Regions from separate parts of the Homo sapiens genome. Here regions 1, 2 and 3 are each linked to region 4. The links are contacts of gene promoters, found by promoter capture Hi-C in human tissues and cell types (Jung and others, 2019). All regions are on one chromosome and are shown on one strand. The core of a region is centred on a gene start or on the middle of the fragment in contact, and the rest is flanking DNA. Distances in the headings are between cores, read along the strand shown.

Region 1 (4,707 bases), core at 1,648-4,147, 340 kb after region 4:
GCACAGCGGCTCACAGGCACATCTGGAAATGCTCGGCCAGGGTGGCTTTTATGCGAGCGAGAACGGAAGGGGGCCTGAGTTCCGTCCCCAGGGCCAGATGAGGTTGGGGGTGGGGGGTCCTGGGCCGTCTCATGCCCAGGCCAGGCACTTTTTGAAGACTGTCCTTCTCCCAGAAGCCAGAGGGGGGTCTGGAGGGAGCAGGGGTATGTGGCAGTGAGTTCAGGACCACCCAGCCAGGCTGATCTGGGATTAATCACATCTCAGAGGCCAGCAGAGTTCCTCAGCCTGGCCTTCGGGTCTGCAGCCCTCAGCTTCAGCCTCCCCTTGGCTCCTCTGCCTGACCCCACCCACCAGGACCTAACCTCAAGCCATGTTCTCTCCTGATCCACTCTCCCATACCGGCCCCATCTGGCAAACTCCTAGACATCCCCCAACACCCCAGCTCTAATGCCCACCTCCTTCAAGATGTGCCCCAACAGGCCAGGCATGGTGGCTCACGCCTGTAATCCCAGCACTTTGGGAGGCCAAGGCTGGCAGATCACTTGAGGTCAGGAGTTTGAGACCAGCCTGGCCAATGTGGTGAAACCCTGTCTCTACCAAAAACATAAAAATTAGCCAGGTGTGGTGGCGCGCGCCTGCAGTCCCAGCCCCTGGGGAGGCCGAGGAAAGAGAATCACCTGAACCTCGGAGGCCGAAGTTGCAGTGAGCCAAAATCGCACCACTGCACTCCAGCCTGGGTGACAGAGCGAGGCTCCATCTCAGGAAAAAAAAAAAAAAAAAAAAAAAAAACCATCATCCTCCAGTGCGGAGAATCTTATTCATTCGTTCTGTGCCACTCGCCAACCAAGAGCCCCTAGTCTGATGTGGGAGGCATCCTCTCAAAACAGGGTCCCGAGGCAAATGCTTGTTAAACATGCAGCTGTAACCCCACCGCAGACCCTGGAGTCTGCAGTGAAGGTCCCTGGTGTGGACATTTGGGGTCACAGGCCAGAATGGCAAACCCACCTTCCCAGGAGCTAGGTGCAAGCCAGACATTTATCGACCAGGTGGGAAGAGCCACCCAGGCAGAGAGCTCAGCCCCAGCAAAGGCTGGAGCCACGTGGTCTCTTCCTGAGTCCTGAGCTGCAAGAGGCTGGAGCCTGGGAACCGGGAAGTCCCCCCAGTCCCTCTCTGAGGCTGGGATCCCCCTGCAGCCTCCTACATACCCCTGTGACGGGCTCAGTCCCTGGACGTTCGGCCCTCGACCACCATGACTGTTTGTGGCTGGTCCTGAGCTGAGACGTCTGCCCTGCTTCTGGCCTGAGGTCTCACCTTTGCAGGGAAGGCAGTGGACAAGGCCCAAGAAGCCGAGGAGGTTGATCTTGTTCCCCGGGTGGGTGAGGTTGGACCAGGCGGTGTCAATGTTGCCGGAGGCACAGCACTCGGCCCGGGTGACATCAGTCTGGAGCACCAGGCTGCAGGTGGCCTCCTGGCCCTGCTGGAGCCAGCAAACACCACCTGCGGGCCGGGGAACGGGGTGCTCTCCTGGGCCACTCCTGACACCCAGCTTCTGGCCCGCCCACAGATGCATGCAGGTGGTGCTGAGTAGTTACGCACGGAATGATCTACCCCCACCCAGGAAGAAGGGGCAGAAAACCACATGGGTGTCCCCACCCTGGCTCCAGAACCCTGGAAATGTCTCCTCCCCTCTGAGCTCCACGTGCCCCCCCCCACAGCCTCACCACCAACCCCCACCCACCCCAGGAGGTCCCTTCCCGTACCCTCCAAGCCCCCAGGCCAGGGGCTGGCACCCTGCCCAACCCCTCAAACACCACCAAACACCAGGCACTGGGCATGTCAGGGTCAGCAGGCCCTGGAGCCGCTTCTCCCGCCTCTGCCCTCTGTCTAGACAGCACCCGAGGGCGAGGGCACGCGGAGCCCCGCGCCTGGCAGCCCCCCCACCGCCTGGCCCGCCTCTTACTCACTCCAACTTGGGAACATTCCCCTTGCATGAGCTCACTGTCTCCCCAGGGACGTGGCCTTCGGGGAGGGGGCTCTGCTCTCCCTTTGGCGCAGGGCTGGGGTGGGGTGGGGCTGCAGGGATGGGGGGTGGGGAGCCAGAGAGCCCCCCATTTCTTCCCCCGTCCCTGGGGGCAGGAACGGCCACAGCCCCCATCCCAGAGCGCTTGCTGGTTCACAGACACTGCCAGGGACCAGCTTGTGGAACGCAGCACCTTGGCACCCATCATAGGAGGGGAAACTGAGGCCAGGAGTGGGGCCGTCTCCTGCCTGGCACCTCCCGGCAAGTCCCAGGTGTGAGACTCCATGCCCCGTCTACCCAGGACCCGGGAAAGCTCTCAGCCCCAGCTGGAGGGCCTGGCTCCCGACACCCAGCACTACCTCTCGGCACCAGGACCGACCCGGACGGTCGCGGCTAGAACCCTGGCTTTGCCTGCTACAGGCTGTGTGACCCTGAGCCTCAGTTTCCCCATCTGGAAGACGGAGATGAAGAGAGCTCCGGCACTATCGGGATGGCACAGGTTCAGGGAGGGGAGAGGTAGACACTAAGCGCTCAATAAATGTCAGCGGTCATTGTGATTAGAAACCTCTGCTCTGCTGACCTCTTGGTGACCCTCCTTCAGACCTTCCCGGCTCCAGCTTGCGCCGGACACCGCCCTCGCCCCCGCCGCCGCCGCCGCGCCCCCCGACGTCCCCCCGGCCGCATTCCGCGCAGCCCCACGTGGGTGGCCCGCCCCGCCCGCCCCTCTGGCCGCCCCACTCACCGGGCGCGGGGTTCCCCGAGCCCATGGAGCTCACGAAGCCCACGGCCCAAGCCAGGGCCCCCCAGGGCAGAGGCCAGAGTGGCCCTGGCGCCCCGGGACGCATGGCGAACGCAGAGACGGCAGCGGCACCGACTTCCCAGCGCGCGGCCGGCGCTCCCTATAAAGGTCCCGCGGGCCGCGGGCGGGGCGGGGCGCGGGGCGGGGCGCGGCGCGGGAGTGGCGGGGGCGAGGCCGTGTCCCGCGCGGGGTGGGCAGGCGCCGGGCCCGGCCGCTGCGGGGGGCAGTTGGGGGCGAGCGCCCGGGTCCCCTTCCGGAGCCAGAGAATGCATTTGGGGAGATGTGGCTGGACCCAGGGCGGAACCGGGACAGGGGTGTGGGTTCGAGGTGGTGGCAGCCTTTTGGGTGGATCGAGGGGCCGTCTCCAGGAATTAAAGTGGGTTTGGGGGTCTTCAGTTTCAGGGGTGGCGGTGAGGTAACGGGGACCCAAGAGGAGCACGTCTGTGGATCCCTGCATCCCGTTTCTGTGATTTGCATGTGGTCACTTTCATGGTCCAAGTGTGGTCTGAGCCCCCCAACCCGGCCTCCTTGTTCCCGACCCGCCCCACACACCCAAAACCTCAGCTGGATATGGTTCCCTGCTCACAGCGCGGGCCGCGCACCCGTCCACCTGGCCGCTGGAGCCGGCCTGTGGGTGGGGAGTGGTTGGGTGTGGGACAGAACGGGGTGCGGCCGGGACAGACCCAGAGACACAGCTCCTTCCAGCATCTCGGACAACAGCAGGCCTCGCCCAGCCACGGCCCCCAGGGAGGCCACTGCGTGTGTGTGTGTGTGTGTGTGTGTGTGTGCGCGCGCACGCCTGGCCTTTGTCCTGGGCCCCTGGGCAGCTCTGCCCCATCAGCCCTCCAAGCCTTTGCAGACATTCCCCCAGATCACCTCAACAAGAATGTTTACTAGGTTTTTTCCTCTCCCTCCAAGATTCAGCAAACACTGTTTCCAGCAGAGGCGTTTCCAACAATGTATGACAGCGACATCTGCGTGGGCCTGGAGGCGCTGCGCCCGAGGGGGCTTTCGTGCAGCCAGACACATTTCCTACTCTGGAGCTGATTCTGTCATGGGGGCCTCCAGATTTGTCAGGCGCCCTTGGCGAGCGCAGGGGAGCCCCTCTGTTCCTGCTTCTAGGGCATCAGTGAACATCTCTTTTGGCCAGAGGGACCCTGCGGGGTGCTGGGGTGCCACGGTGACCAAGGCAGACCCCATCACACCCTCACCGAGCTCCTGGTTTGGACAACAAAATGCAGAGACAAATTAATCTATAACTTCAAGGAGTGGTAAATGCTTTCAGGAAAATACAGAAGGTTGAGGTGGTGGAGAGCGGTTGGGTGTCTGCTGGGCATGCCTGTGTCTGGCCACTCGCTGTGCCGGCATTGCCCACCCCGCAGGTGGAAACGGACGTGTCCAGCAGCCCCACGGCACAGCCCCTTCTCTGGCCTGAGTGAGATCTGTGCCCACAGAAGACACACCTGTACCCTTTCCTCCACCTTAGCTGCCCAGCCTGTGTCCCCCAGCAGCCAGTGGCCAGGGGCCAAGTTCTGCCTTAGTGGCACTGAGGGGGGACACCCCGCCGTCTTGACCTGGCCTTGGCCTCTGGCATTTCCCCCGGGAATCTCCCCGGCTTGGGGAGCAGGGCAGGGACGGGACCCTGTATTCTCACTGAGGGGGGACACCCCGCCGTCTCGACCTGGCCTTGGCCTCTGGCATTTCCCCCGGGAATCTCCCCGGCTTGGGGAGCAGGGCAGGGACGGGACCCTGTGTTCTCACTGAGGGGGGACACCCCGCCGTCTCGACCTGGCCTTGGCCTCTGGCATTTCCCCCGGGAATCTCCCCGGCTTGGGGAGTGGGGCAGGCACAGGACCCTGTGTTCTCACTGACGGGGGACACCCCGCCG
Region 2 (4,504 bases), core at 515-3,014, 260 kb before region 4:
CCGACCCGAGGCCGTTGACCAGGGTGGGGGGTGGGCCTGTGCGTGTTCCCCACCCCCACGGCGGAACACGGGCCGCCCTTGTCCCCGAGCCCGCCTCAAAGAGACCCCTTCATGCAACTTTCCTCCCGGGGACCGAGGACAGCAGGAGACAGAGGGGACAAGGAGGGGTGGCGGGCTCCAGAGGGCGGCTCGGTCGGCACAGGAAGCGGCTGGAAAACGGAGAGAAAGTGACCAGTAGCAGAAGAGTGGGGGGGGGCCGCCTCAGCCCCCGATGTGCAGCTCCGTGTGCCTTAGGAAGACGGTGACACCCTGAGTGCTGGGGCTGACTCCCTCCCGAGCCCCAGGACCCCCAAAGCCCCGGCTCCCACGGGACCCCCAGGGAAGCTGCAGCCTGCTCCTGTCTTGGAGACCCTGGGATGGTTCAGAGGGTTCTACCCACGTCCAGGCCATGGCCAGGCCCCGGCAAACTTTTTTTGCTCTGACCAACGGGGGCTTCTCCTGTCCCCCACGTTGTGCCTGGCCCGGACCTGGTTCAAAACAAGGGGGCCTGCAGCAGGCGGGTGCGGCATCTCGGCCGGGCGTGGCAGGCAGGGCACTGGGCCACCTGGGTCCTGCCCCCAAGTCCCCCCCTTGCATGACCTTGAGCCAGCTCCTCATCCCCTCTGCACCTCAGTTTCCTGGTCAGCGCCCAGAGGACAAGAGAGGACTCCATCCCACTGCCCCTCCCGGGGCTGACCCCCAGCTCCCCGGCCCCTCAGTCTCCTTTCAAAGCTGGGCCCTTGGCCCCCTGGAGTGAAGCAGATGCTGGGTCCTGAGGGAGGGACACTCCAACTTCCCCAAGTTCATCTGGGGACCTGCGGGCAGGACGAACCCAGAGATCCCTCGAGGGCCACAGTCCCCCACCTCCGGTGCCAAGGTCCCCGGGGATCCCCACCAAATGCGAAACCGAGGGGGCTCCCCAGAGAAGCGGGTGGATCAGGGGTCCCCCCAAGTCCAGGCAGGCAACTCAGGGGCTACCCGGCATCGGAGGGTACCAGAGGGGTTCCCCAAACTCCAGGAGACGTCGGCGCTCTGGGGGATGTGGGGCGCGAGTCCCCACAGTCCGTAGGGCAATGGGGCGCCCCGGGGAAGGCAGGCGCGAAAAGGGCGAGTCCCCCAAACTCCGGGGGGCCGGAGCTCCCTGGGGGGCTCCCGCGGGAACCGGGCGCCCGCATCCCGGCGGCGGCGCGCGCGTGGGGGGCGCCCGGAGCTCCGGGGGCGCGAGGCCGGGCGCGGCTTGGGGGGCGTTGGGGGGTCCCCGGGCGCCCCCCGCGCGCGGCCGCGCTCACCTGGGGTTGCTGCGGTTCCAGTAGACGGCGTAGCGGTCCGAGTTGGCGCGGGCGGCGTCCTCGGCGCGCGCGAAGGGCGGCGGCGGCAGCGGTAACAGCAGGAGCAGCAGCGGGAGCAGCGGGCGCTGCGCGGGCGCCATGGCCCCGGTCCGGCCGCCGCGCTCGCTCTCCCGGCCGCCGCCTGCCAGCCTTCTCCGCCTCCTCCGCCGCCGCCGCCGCCGCCGAGCGGGCGGGCGGAGGGCGGGCGGGAGGAGGGCGCGGCGGCGCTTGGAGATCCCGGGCCGCCCCCGCCTCCGCGCGCGCGACCTCGGGCGCCGAGAAGTCAGGCGGCGGCGGGGCGGGGCGCCGGGGTCGCCCCGGGCGCAGGACCCGGCCGCGCGGACTGTCGGAGCGCGGGCCGCCGCCGCCGCACCCGCCGGGGAGGGGCCCGGGCTCCGGCCTTTGTCCCGCCCGAGCGTCGGGAGGGCCGCGGGCGCCCCCTCCCGCCGTGCCCCGGCCGCGCGGGGACTGGGCGGGGGTCTCCAGCCTGCGCCCGCCCCCTGCCCCGGCCCACCCCGTCTCAGGCTCGTCCCCCGGGGCCTGCCCCCAGCGACCCCGATTCTGCGCGCCCCCCGCCGGCATCCGCGTGGCCCGGCCTGGGGTCTCCGAGGGGCGGGGGCGCACCCTGCCTCCCGCGCCCCCACGCGCTCCACCCGGCCCGGCCCTGGGTCCCGGGCCTCTCACCTGCCCGGTTCCAGCGCTATCCGCAGCCTCACCAACCCCGACGCACGCGTCCCAAATCGGGCTCGGCCAACTCCAGTCTCCCTGCGGGGGCCGGGGCAGAGTTTCAGAGGGGCGCTGGCCAAAGTCCAAAGCTGCTCGGGCTGCGACCTCCCTGGGGCCCTCCTGGGAGTCGCCTCTCCGGACCCACGCTGTTCCCTGGGGATGGAGTAAGTCCCTACACCTCAGCCCTAAGGGTGCCGGGAGCATAGTAGGTGGACCGATGTGGAGTGTGAGCAGCTGGGGATGGGATCCAAGAAGCCCAGAGTGAAGCCCCGGCCGACAGCAAATCAGTCTCCACGCACGAATCCTGCAGGCAGGGGAGGGCCGCTGCCCGGGGGCACAGCTTGTGCAAAGACCCGGGGTCTGATCTGTTCAGGGAACGCCGAGTGATTTCTCCTCCTGGTAGGCTGACACAGGTGGGGAACTGGGGGCCTGGCCTCTGCTTTGTCTTTTTTCCAATCTATAGAGACAGTGTCTGGCCATGTTGGCCACGCTGGTCTTGAACTCCTGGGCTCAGGCGATCTTCCCACCTGGGCTTCCCAAAGTGCTAGGATTACAGGCGTGAGCCACTGCACCTGGCCTGCCCTCTGTTTTTGCCCTTATTCATGCCACAGCCTCCCTCACCAGACTCTGAGCTTGTGGAGGGTAGGCTGTCATCAAACGCTGGCTGGACTTTGCTGGCGATGCCCAGATCGTGTTGTACGTCTCTGAATTAGTGTCATTCACCAGGCCCAGTGCAGGAGAGGGAACTGCAGGGCAAGCACCAACAGCCCTTGGACCCGAAGGTCCCTGTGTGAGGCATTACCCAAACTCCTGGCAGGGACCGTGAACCCAGAGATGGGCAAGCTAACCTGTGCCCCAGCAAGGTGGGGTGGGGACCGGACCCACCACCGTCCCACAGCTCTGAGACGTGGTGGGCTCTGTCCTGTGTCTCCTGCGTGCCCTCCTCCCCCGATTCCCCAGCGGGCCACGCGGGCCACACCACCTGACCTTTGTTCAGGCTGGGTCCTGCTGGGAAGTCCTTCCACTTTTTCTTCCTGTTAAAATCTTGCTCTTCCAGAAAGGTCTGTCCCACCCAGTGCTCTAGCGTCCCTGCCAGGACAAGGTTCTCAGTTCTCTCTCCTCCAGGGAGCTCAGCCCGTCTGTTCTGAGCTCCAGGTCTCATCCCCTGACCCCACTACAGACGTCCCAGGTCGAAGGCCCAGGGCTGGCCGGGTGTCTCTTCAGTGGAGGGCGTGAACCTGTCCCAGGTGGTGGCTGAGGCAGGCCCTCTGGACAGGCTCTCTCAGCACCCCTGGAGTGAGGGCCTTGGGTTCTAGCCACACAAGGCTCTGTAGCCCAGACAGGCTGGAGAAGCTTCCCGGGCGGCTCCGTCTGGTGGGGGGCTCTTTTAGGGAGGGGGACGGCCACTCCCGGAGGTGAGCACTTTCGGAGCAGAGTGTGGCGGCTGCACCCAAGCACAGGACAAGGGGCCGTGAGCCTGGGGTCTTGGCGTGCCCGGCCCCAGCATGCCACCTGGCAAAGGTGGGAGTTCTGGAAGCTTCCTTCTACCCTGGGACCAGAAGCCCCCTCCTGCTTCAAGGGATCTCGTGGGTGAGGAGGGGTGGGCCAGGGTCGGGAGGAGGGGGTCTCTTCTCAAACCAGGACTGGGACCTGCACAGGTGGGAGCTGGAAGGGCACCACCTCCACCCAGGCATGGCAGGGCCACTCATTTGCATGCAGGGGCCACCGAGGCGAGAGCCGCCACCACCGCCACCGCTGAACGGATTTGAGCAGAAGCTCCGTTTTCCTTCTGTTCTTGTCTCTCTCAAGGTCAGAGCCCAAGCAGGGACGGGAACAAAGGCGGTGCGTCCCCCATTCAACCTCCCCGCGCCCGCTGGCCGCTCCTAGAGGAAGGACCTGGGGAAGGGAGGGGAGGGCAGGGCGTCTCCGAGGCCTGGCCCTGGGCGAGGCTGCCCCGGCAAACCCCTGCCTGGCAGGGGGGCCACTGTGGGGGTCCAAGAAGCCCTGTTCCCTCCTGGGGCTGGGAGCTGTCCCGGCTTTGGGACGCAGCCGCGGCCGGAGGTCACTCTAGAGTAAGCTTCCTGTGGAGCCAAGGGTCAGAAATCAGGCTCACTCTGGGAACAGGTGTCCGCCAAGGTCAGGGGTTATCCAGGGTCGCCCTCAGTCCCTGGTCTGGAGCCAGTACAGGGCTTGATGGGGTCTGGCCCCGCCCCCTGCTCTGCACTGCTGGGACTGGGGTCTACCCAGACTCAGGAAGGGACTTGTCCAGCCCGTGCCCAGCACCCACTGCCCACATGGCCAGGCCACAGGGCTTGGGATCAGCGTCCCGCAGCCCCTCAGCCTTCAAAGGCCGCGACGCCAGGAGGAAGCTAAAAATATGCGGGGAGAATTTCTCATTACAGAATAAATTG
Region 3 (4,476 bases), core at 1,629-4,128, 330 kb after region 4:
CACGGACCCTGAGCTGGGGTCCCACCTGTCCCCAGGCCCTGGAAACAGCTTTCCATTTCCCAAAATCTTTCCTGCAGCTGCTGTAACGAATTCCCAGAAACGTAGTGGTTTAAAATGATACCAACTTGGGCCAGACATGGTGGCTCACACCTGTAATCCCAGCACTCCGGGAAGCCGAGGCTGGAGGATTGCTCGAGGCCAGGAGTTCAAGACCAGCCTGGGCAACATGGCAAAACCCCGTCTCCACAAAAAATGAAATAATGAGCCGGGCCTGGTGGTGGCAGGTGCCTGTGGTCCCAGCTACTTGGGAGGCTGAGGTGGGAGGATGGCTTGAGCCTAGGAGGTCGAGGCTGCAGTGAGCTTTGATTGCACTGCTGCACTCCAGCGTGGGCGGCAGAGCAAGACCCTGTCTCCCTGTCTCAAAATAAATATATACATAATAAATGAGGCTGGGCGCGGTGGCTCACACCTGTAATCCCAGCACTTTGAAAGGCTGAGGCAGGCAGATCACGAGGTCAGGAGATTGAGACCATCCTGGCTAACGTGGTGAAACCCCATCTCTACTAAAAATACAAAATATCAGCCGGGCGTGGTGGCGGGCACCTGTAGTCCCAGCTACTTGGGAGGCTGAGGAAGGAGAATGGCATGAACCCAGGAGGCGGAGCTTGCAGTGAGCCGAGATCGCACCACTGCAGTCTGGCCTAGGCGAAAGAGCGAGACTCCATCTCAAGAAAATATAATAATAATAATAATAAACGAAATGGCACCAATTTATTCTCTGGCAGTGCTGGAGGTCAGAAGCCCCTGCAGGCCCTTCTGGGCTAACGTCAGGGCATCGGTAGGGCTGGCTTTTCCCGGAGGCTCCAGGAGAAAATTCGTTTCCTGCCGTTTTTTAGCTTCCAGAGGCCGCCCGCATCTCGCAGAGCCCGAGTTCGTTGTGGGGCCTTTTCATACCTTCCTTTCCACGCATTTCCTGTTGCTTCATTTCACTTCATTCTTTATTGAGAACACTTTACATTTGGTAAAACACAGGTCTGGAGCGTTCAATGATGACTTTTTTTTTTTTTTTTTTTTTGAGATGGTGTCTCGCTCTGTCACCCAGGCTGGAGTGCAATGGTGCAATCTTGGCTCACTGCCACCTCCACCTCCCGGTTCAAGCGATTCTCCTGCCTCAGCCTCCCAAGTAGCTGGGATTACAGGCACCTGCCACCACGCCTGACTAATTTTGGTACTTTAAGTAGAGACGGGGTTTCACTATGTTGGCCAGGCTGGTCTTGAACTCCTGACCTCAGGTGATCCACCTGCCTCGGCCTCCCAAAGTGCTAGGATTATAGGCGTGAGCCACTGCACCCGGCCCCAGCCTGTTCATTATTAAGCGCTGACGAGCACCCCACTGCTAGCCACTGCCGTGAACGCCATCACCCGGCTGTGTGAGCTGCAATTTACGACCTGAACTTTGCCACTAAGAACGCTCCCACTGAAAGGTGAAGACCTGCCGGGCTGGGCGCGGTGGCTCAGGCCTGTCATCCCAGCACTTTGGGAGGCTGAGGCAGGTGGATCACCTGAGGTCGGGAGTTCGAGACCAGCCTGACCAACATGGAGAAACTCCGTCTCTACTAAACACACAAATTTAGCGGGGCGTGGTGGTGGGCACCTGTAATCCCAGTTACTCAGGAGGCTGAGGAAGGAGAATCCCTTGAACTCAGGAGACAGAGGTTGCGGTGAGCCAAGATCGCGCCACTGCACTCTAGCCTGGGCAACAAGAGCAAGATTCCTTCTCAAAAAAAAAAAAAAAAAAAAAAAGGCCGGGCACCGTGGCTCATGCCTGTAATCCCAGCACTTTGGGAGGCCGAGGCGGGCGGATCATGAGGTCAGGAGATCGAGACCATCCTGGCTAATATGGTGAAACCCCGTCTCTACTAAAAATACAGAAACAAAATTAGCCGGCTGTGGTGGCGGGCGCCTGTAGTTCCAGTTACTCGGGAGGCTGAGGAACGAGAATCACTCGAACCCGGGAGGTAGAGGTTGCGGTGAGCCGAGATGGTGCCATTCCACTCTAGCCTGGGCAACAAGAGCAAGACTCCATCTCAAAAAAAAAAAGAAAAGAAAAAAAAGGTGAAGACCCCCATGTACAGCCATGTCCCACTGGACTCCGGATCCCACAGAACGTCAGTGCTACAGGCTGGGGTGCGGTCACTGCCTCATCCTCACCTCCTAGCATGAGGTCTGGTATACACTAGGCACTCAATAACTGCTGAATAAAGGCAGAAATCTGCCAGGTGCAGTGGCTGTCTTCTGTGATCTCAGCACTTTGGAAGGCCGAGGAGGGAGGATCGCTGGAGCCCAGGAGTTCGAGACCAGCCTGGGCAACATAGCAAAACCCCACCTATAAAAATAAAATAAAATAAAGGCAGAAATCATCAGAGCTTCCCAGGAGACCGGCCTTCCTCGCTGTCCCCACAGCCCTGAGGTCGGCCCTGGGTTTGGAGATGGGAAGACTGGGGTTTGCGGGGTGGGGGCCGGAGGCGAGCTGCGGGTCTCGAGTGCCGCTGTGACCTCGGTTCCTCGGAAAGCTCCCCACACATGCTGGGCCACGTGGAGGCTGGGTAAACTGAGGCACAGAAGGGTCAATTGCCTTCCCGAGGTCACTTGCAGCCCCAGAGCTGTCTCCTCCTCTCCCTGTTTCCGGACTAGGGGACAATGATTATTATCAACATGATTATTACCAGCCACCACCTGAGACCATCGATTTCTCAGAAACGCCCGCCTGGGCTCCAGGCGTTGCTGGTGGGGCCTCCCGACCACAGGCCACAGCCAGGCTCCCCCTTTCCGGCCGTTGGCTGAGGGTGGGAGCCACGGCCCGAAGACCTCTGCGGGGAGACGCCAGCCTGCGTCTGCCATGGGGCTCGGGTTGAGGGGCTGGGGACGTCCTCTGCTGACTGTGGCCACCGCCCTGATGCTGCCCGTGAAGCCCCCCGGTGAGGAGCCCCCCGGGATCCCCACCCAGGCCCCCGCCAAGTCCCCGTACGGGGGCCACACCCGGGAACCCCCAGTCCCGGGAGAACCCTGGGGAGAGCTCCACCTGCTCCATCTGCCGAGCCCCCGTGGCTGCCTCTGCTGGAAATGGATGGAAATCCGGCCGGGGTCTCTGCCCAGCCCAGCCCTGGATCTCCCGGGCTCGGGAGCCCCTCCCAGCGCATCTGGGGGGCTTGTCTGGGCTCTGTCTCCAGCTCTCTGGGTCTCTCCGTCTCTAATCTCACCCCCTGTCTCTGTCTTGGCCGCTACTTCTCCCCCTGCCCTGACCCCAGCCCCGTCATCCGTTCCTCCCGCCTCGTCCCTGACTCAGGCCGTCCCTCCAGCAGGCTCCTGGGGGGCCCAGATCATCGGGGGCCACGAGGTGACCCCCCACTCCAGGCCCTACATGGCATCCGTGCGCTTCGGGGGCCAACATCACTGCGGAGGCTTCCTGCTGCGAGCCCGCTGGGTGGTCTCGGCCGCCCACTGCTTCAGCCACAGGTGAGCTCACCTGTCGGGCCCCTTCTTTCTGGACACCGTATCCCGACATGAGGGGGACTCCAGGCTGGTGGGGGAGCTGGGGGCGCCGTGGCTCCTGCAGGAGGGGGAGTCTCAGCAGGGGCTGGATTTAAAGGGCAACAAAGGGAAAACAGGAGGATAAGGCAGGGAGGCAAAAGAAGCACAGAAGAAGCAACAGGCGCAACAAGTACATATTCTGTTACTGTAACTGTCACTATGTTCTTTTTTTTTTTTGAGGCAGTCTCGGTTCCCCAGGCTGGAGTGCAACGGTGCAATCTCGGCTCACTGCAACCTCCACCTCCCGGGCTCAAGCGATTCTCCTGCCTCAGCTTCCCGAGTAGCTGGGATCACAGGCGCCCACCACCACACCTGGCTAATTTTTGCATTTTTAGTAGAGACTGGATTTCACCATGTTGGCCAGGCTGGTCTCGAACTCCTGACTTCAAATGATCCACCCGCCTCTGCCTCCCAAAGTGCTGGGATTGCAGGTGTGAGCCGCCATGCCCTGCCTCGTTTTAAACATATTGTTATAATAACTATTAAAATGTATATTGGGGCCAGGGTGGGTGGGTCCCCTCCTGCAGGAGCCCCCACCAGGCACGGGATAGGTTGGTCCTGGGCTGCAGTGTCCCCAGCTCCCCCGCCAGCCTGCAGTCCCCCTCACGTTGGGACACGGTGGATTGTTTGAGGTCAGGAGTATGAGACCAGCCTGGCCAACATGGTGAAACTCTGTCTCTACTAAAAATACGAAAATTAGGCTGGGTGCGGTGGCTCATGCCTGTAATCCCAGCACTTTGGGAGGCCGAGGCAGGAGGATCACGAGGTCAGGAGATCGAGACCATCCTGGCTAATACAGTGAAACCCCATCTCTACTAAAAATACAAAAAAATTAGCCGGATGTGGTGGCAGGCGCCTGTAGTCCCAGCTACCCAGGAGGCTGAG
Region 4 (4,540 bases), core at 1-2,500:
AATAGCCGGGTGTGGTGGCGGAAGCCTGCAATCCCAGCTATTCAGGAGGCTGAGGCAGAGAATTGCTTGAACCCAAGAGGCGGAGGTTGCAGTGAGCCGAGATCACGCCACTGCACTCCAGCCTGGGCGACAGAGTGAGACTGCGTCTCAAAAAAAAAAAACAACACAAAACTTTTTTTTGGCGGGCTTGGTGGGTCACACCTGTAATCCCAGCACTTTGGGAGGCCTAGGCGGGCAAATCACCTAAAGTTAGGAGTTCGAGACCAGCCTGACCAACATGGAGAAACCGTCTCTACTAAAAATATAAAATTAGCCTGGAGTGGTGGCGCATGCCTGTAATCCCAGCTACTTGGGAGGCTGAGGCAGGAGAATGGCTTGAACCCGGGAGGCGGGGGTTGCAGAGAGCCGAGATCGCGCTTCTGCGCTCCAGCCTGGGCGACAGAGCGAGAATCCATCTCAAACAAACAACCAAAAAACCCAAAAACCATAGTATCCTCTTGTGTACGCAGCCGGCACTCAGTAAGTGCCCCTGAAGAGCACTTATTTATTCATTGCTGCGCGAAGCTACGGGGGCAGGTGGCACAGCGCCACGCAGGAGTAGAGACTGCCAGATTGTTCTACCGCCAACCTTAGTGGCGCCACAGGAGATGGACACGGGAAGACTATGACGTTACTGGCCCTGTGACGTCATGGCAGGATCCGGGCAAGAGAAGCCAAACGAGGTGACGAGCTGTAGACTACAGCAAAAATATGGAACGCTTCACGAATTTGCGTGTCATCCTTGCGCAGGGGCCATGCTAATCTTCTCTGTATCGTTCCAATTTTAGTATATGTGCTGCCGAAGCGAGCACGACTCAAGGGTTACTGTCACACCTATTTTAAGCCCTTCAATCAAATCATCTTTTGGTTAGGATAACTTATGGTCGGTTTCATATTTAGCATAATTTCCTACAGTGGTATGTTGCAGAACAACTTTCGTGCTTACGCTTACTTTGATGTCTTCGATCACGTAAAATCCCATATCTTATCGTAATTTTACCGCCTTATACTGGCCTCATAGCCGCGGTGGATTGTGGGTGCCAATATGCAAAAGAGGTGGCCCAGATGCAGGCCCGCCCCCTGGAGCGGCCGAGGTAGGGGGTGAGGCCTCCGCGGGCGCCGCTGGCATCCCAGCGTTCTCTGCGGGCGCAGGGGGGCCGCTCTTGCCCGGCGTGGCGACTCGCTAGCGTCAGCAGCGCCGCAGCCGGACGAGAAAGCGGAAGATGGCGGCGGCGGCCGGGAGGCCGTGAGGAGAGCGGCGGCTGCGAGGGCGGCCGATGGCGGCCGGGAGGCGCCCTCGGACACTTGCGGGTCGTTAGGGCGCGACGCTGGGAGGCATGTCGGAGCACGTGGAGCCCGCAGCTCCGGGGCCCGGGCCCAACGGCGGCGGCGGCGGCCCGGCCCCCGCGCGCGGGCCTCGCACCCCCAATCTCAACCCCAACCCCCTCATCAACGTGCGCGACCGGCTCTTCCACGCGCTGTTCTTCAAGATGGCTGTCACCTATTCGCGGCTCTTCCCGCCCGCCTTCCGCCGTCTCTTCGAGTTCTTCGTGCTGCTCAAGGTGACCGCGGCCCCGACCCCCGACCCTTGACCCCAGCGGCTGTCCCGACCCCCAAGTCTGCTACCTCCGACCGCGACCCCTGGCCCCGCTGGGGACAGCGAGCGCCACCCTGCACCCTGAGGCCTATACCCGGCCCTACCGATTAGGGCTCTCCCTCGCGACCTCTGACCCTGGGATTGGCCAGGGACACCGTCTCGTGACCCCATCCCGCCCGGGGACGTCCACCCGGGAAGGCCGGATCCCGCTGCACTAGAAGCCGCTGTTCTCTACTCTGGAAACCTCACTGTCAGCTCCCTCCAGGGCCCATCCTGTCCCCGGCGACCGCCTTTCCCAGGTCCCCACCTACCCAGGCTTGGAGTCCGGTCCTGGCCTGCGAGGTAGCACCTCCCGCCCTTTGACCCCTGACTGTGCCGCCTGAGACCCTCAGTTCCGAGGCCTCTCTCCCCTCCCAATGTGCTGGCCCAGAACCCAGCCTGACGCAGGTCTCCCTCGGACCAACCCCTGTCCTGGAAGTCGACTCCCCACTCCCCTCTCTCCCTCCTTGTAGCCTTTCAGCTGCGTTCCCCGCTCCTGAGCCTCAGGGGAATGTGACTTAGCTGAGGTCACCTCGCTAGGGTTAGCGGCAAAGTCACCGGCAGCAGCGTACCACCCCATCCCCGGCCTCTTCCTCCGCTGGGTCCCCACTCCCTTCCTGCTTCAGGAGCTCAGGTTGTGGGTCTGTCGCCCGTGCCTCCCCTATGAGGCACCGGCCTCCGCGTCTTGGGCTCTGTCCCCCTCCCGCCCTCCTCAGATGGCAGAGGTCTCAGCCGTGCAGGACAGGCATCGGCCTGACTCCCTCTGAGAAGGAGTCTTGCTTGGGTGACAAGAGGGGCTCAGTAGCAGCTGCAGCCCCTCAGAAAACAAGCTGGCCGGGGTCCTGGGCCACCTGGCGAAATGGGGACGTGGCCGTTTTCGTTCTGCATCAGAACACCGCCGCGCCGGGGCTTGGGGGCTGCTGAAGTTGCGCCGTGAGCTTTTTGGATCTAGCCTGCAAAGAGGGGTCCGATGCTGGCGGGCCAGGCTGCGATCGTGGGCAAGTTCCCAGCCTGACACAGGTTGGTCAGGAGCTGGCTGCTTTTTTGGGCTCGGCAAGTGGAGCTGGACCTTGGCCGTCCTGCGGACCTGGGTGTGGGTCCCAGCCTGCTGCCACTTCACGGAAGGCCCCCCAGCCTCCAGATCCGTGCCTCCCCAGGCCAGAGCTCAGCCCATCATCCTTCCCACCTTCCTCCCTGCAGCCCCCCAGAGTGGCATGGTCGCCTCAGTAGGCACCTGAGCAGGGCTGTGAAGGGTTACGCAGGCAGGCGGCCTTTCCCGGCTCTGGGGTCCACAGACGGGGCCTGAAACTGTGGACGGAGGCTGGTCTGTGGACGTGGGTTTTCCTTCCATGGAGTAGCCTGGGAACAGGATGGAGCCACTGTGTCCTTAGGCTTGTGGAGGGTGTGTGCTGGGTGCCAGGCCAGGTTCCCCCGACGGAGCTCAGCCTCCTTGGGAGGTGCATCCCTGTCGCCTGGGCCCTGGTCCCACCATGTCCCGGTTTGGAAAGGGATCAAGCCTACCCGGCTCCATCTCCAGGCCAATACCACTCACAGGTGGTCAGATGGGGCTGGGCCAGAGCTGGAGTTCCCCGTCTTCTGTGTAGGGTGGAGACTCTTGGGAGGTTCTCAGTAACCCCAATCCCTCCTCTCTCAGCAGAGGGCTTTGGACTGTGAGATCTCTGGGTGGTGAATTTTTTTTTTTTTTTTTTTGAGATGGAGTCTTGCTCTGTCACCCAGGCTGGAGTGCAGTGGTTTGATCTCGGCTCACTGCAAACTCCACCTCCTGGGTTCAAGCAATTCTTCTGCCTCAGCCTGCGGAGTAGCTAGGATTACCGGTGCCCACCATCACAACCGGCTAATTTTTTTGTCTTTTTAGTAGAGACTGGGTTTTGCCATGTTGGCTAGGCTGGTCTCAAACTGCTGATTTCAGGTGATCTGCCCGCCTCGGCCTCCCAAAAGGCTGGGATTACAGGCGTGAGCCACCATGCCTGGCCTGGGTGGGGAAATCTGTTCTTTGTGAATTTTCCACCCGGTAATCTGGTGGCACAGAATCTGACCCTGCTGCCTTCACTTTTACTTATCTGCAAAGTGCAGGCTGGAACTGCCTGATTTCAGAGGCTGCCTTGAGTTCCAGAAGGCTCCTCTGCTTCCTGCCTGCCTGGCTTCCGGGGGTCTCCCTGCAGAGAGCCAGGTCCTCCCTGGTATGATCCCTTCAAGGTGGCTTCATCCTGTGGCATCTGTGCAGCTGAGCTCCCAGCCCTGAGCTGGCATGGAGTCCCCCAGCTCTCACCCATGCCTGGGTGGCTTTAGGAAATGCCAGGATCTCCCAGCTCTGAGCCAGCATGGAGCCCCCCGGTCCCTCATCCATGCCTGGGTGGCTTTAGGAAATGCCAGGCAGTGCCAGGTGCTGGGGAGAGAGGAGGCGGCAGGGGCCTGTGTTCCAGGGGCCCTCGGGAGACCTCCATCCAGCCTCAGTATCCACCTCTGCTGGCCTTCATGGCCCTGAGCCCAGTGTGGCAGAGACTGTCCATCTTGGGGCACTGGGTGCCTGCACCTGTGCGGTTGGGCTCTGGACCCAGGTGACCACCAAGTGGATGCCCACAGGGTGAAGGGGTCTCGACTCAGCACCCCTGGACATGGGCAGGGGCCCGCGCCTAGCCACAGGGAGTAATGGGGCTCCTCTTGTGGGGTCGTGACGATTAAAGACGGGGTATGTGAGACCCCAGGGGCCCTGCTCTGAATGGGGGACCTGTCACATTGAGGCCACTGTGAGGCTGCAGTGGAAGGAGAGGCCCCGGTGGCCTGGAGGCAGGAAGCACCCCGGGTGGACAAAGGGGAGCCCCAGGTAGTGTTTCCTGGCTGGGG

Evidence for each region. Contacts are between HindIII fragments. The study calls those that stand out against the background at their distance.
Region 1: the fragment with the promoter of FSTL3 here is called in contact with the fragment with the promoter of TMEM259 in region 4 in 1 of the 25 tissues and cell types used here (hippocampus).
Region 2: the fragment with the promoter of EFNA2 here is called in contact with the fragment with the promoter of TMEM259 in region 4 in 1 of the 25 tissues and cell types used here (spleen).
Region 3: a contact is called between the fragment with the promoter of PRSS57 here and the fragment with the promoter of TMEM259 in region 4, in 1 of the 25 tissues and cell types used here (dorsolateral prefrontal cortex).

The regions. Positions count from the first base shown.
Region 1 is chr19:674,582-679,288 of GRCh38, reverse strand. It overlaps FSTL3 (follistatin like 3), which reads right to left and starts at 2,897. Exons shown (of 5, transcript NM_005860.3): 1 at 2,763-2,897; 2 at 1,312-1,497. The coding sequence starts at 2,865. RefSeq lists an enhancer at 41-543. The HindIII fragment of the contact is 14,894 bases long and covers 1-4,707 here.
Region 2 is chr19:1,283,133-1,287,636 of GRCh38, reverse strand. EFNA2 (ephrin A2) reads right to left here and starts at 1,764. Exons shown (of 4, transcript NM_001405.4): 1 at 1,329-1,764. The coding sequence starts at 1,468. RefSeq lists enhancers at 1,679-2,179, 2,180-2,680, 4,204-4,504. The HindIII fragment of the contact is 32,397 bases long and covers 1-3,900 here.
Region 3 is chr19:693,854-698,329 of GRCh38, reverse strand. It overlaps PRSS57 (serine protease 57), which reads left to right and starts at 2,878. Exons shown (of 5, transcript NM_001308209.2): 1 at 2,878-2,978; 2 at 3,363-3,516. The coding sequence starts at 2,900. The HindIII fragment of the contact is 19,970 bases long and covers 1-4,476 here.
Region 4 is chr19:1,017,833-1,022,372 of GRCh38, reverse strand. It overlaps TMEM259 (transmembrane protein 259), which reads left to right and starts at 1,250. Exons shown (of 11, transcript NM_001033026.2): 1 at 1,250-1,601. The coding sequence starts at 1,377. RNU6-2 (RNA, U6 small nuclear 2) reads right to left here and starts at 851; the gene lies at 745-851. RefSeq lists silencers at 1,059-1,168, 1,329-1,398, 1,429-1,488, 3,747-3,966 and an enhancer at 2,764-3,363. The HindIII fragment of the contact is 9,371 bases long and covers 1-2,149 here.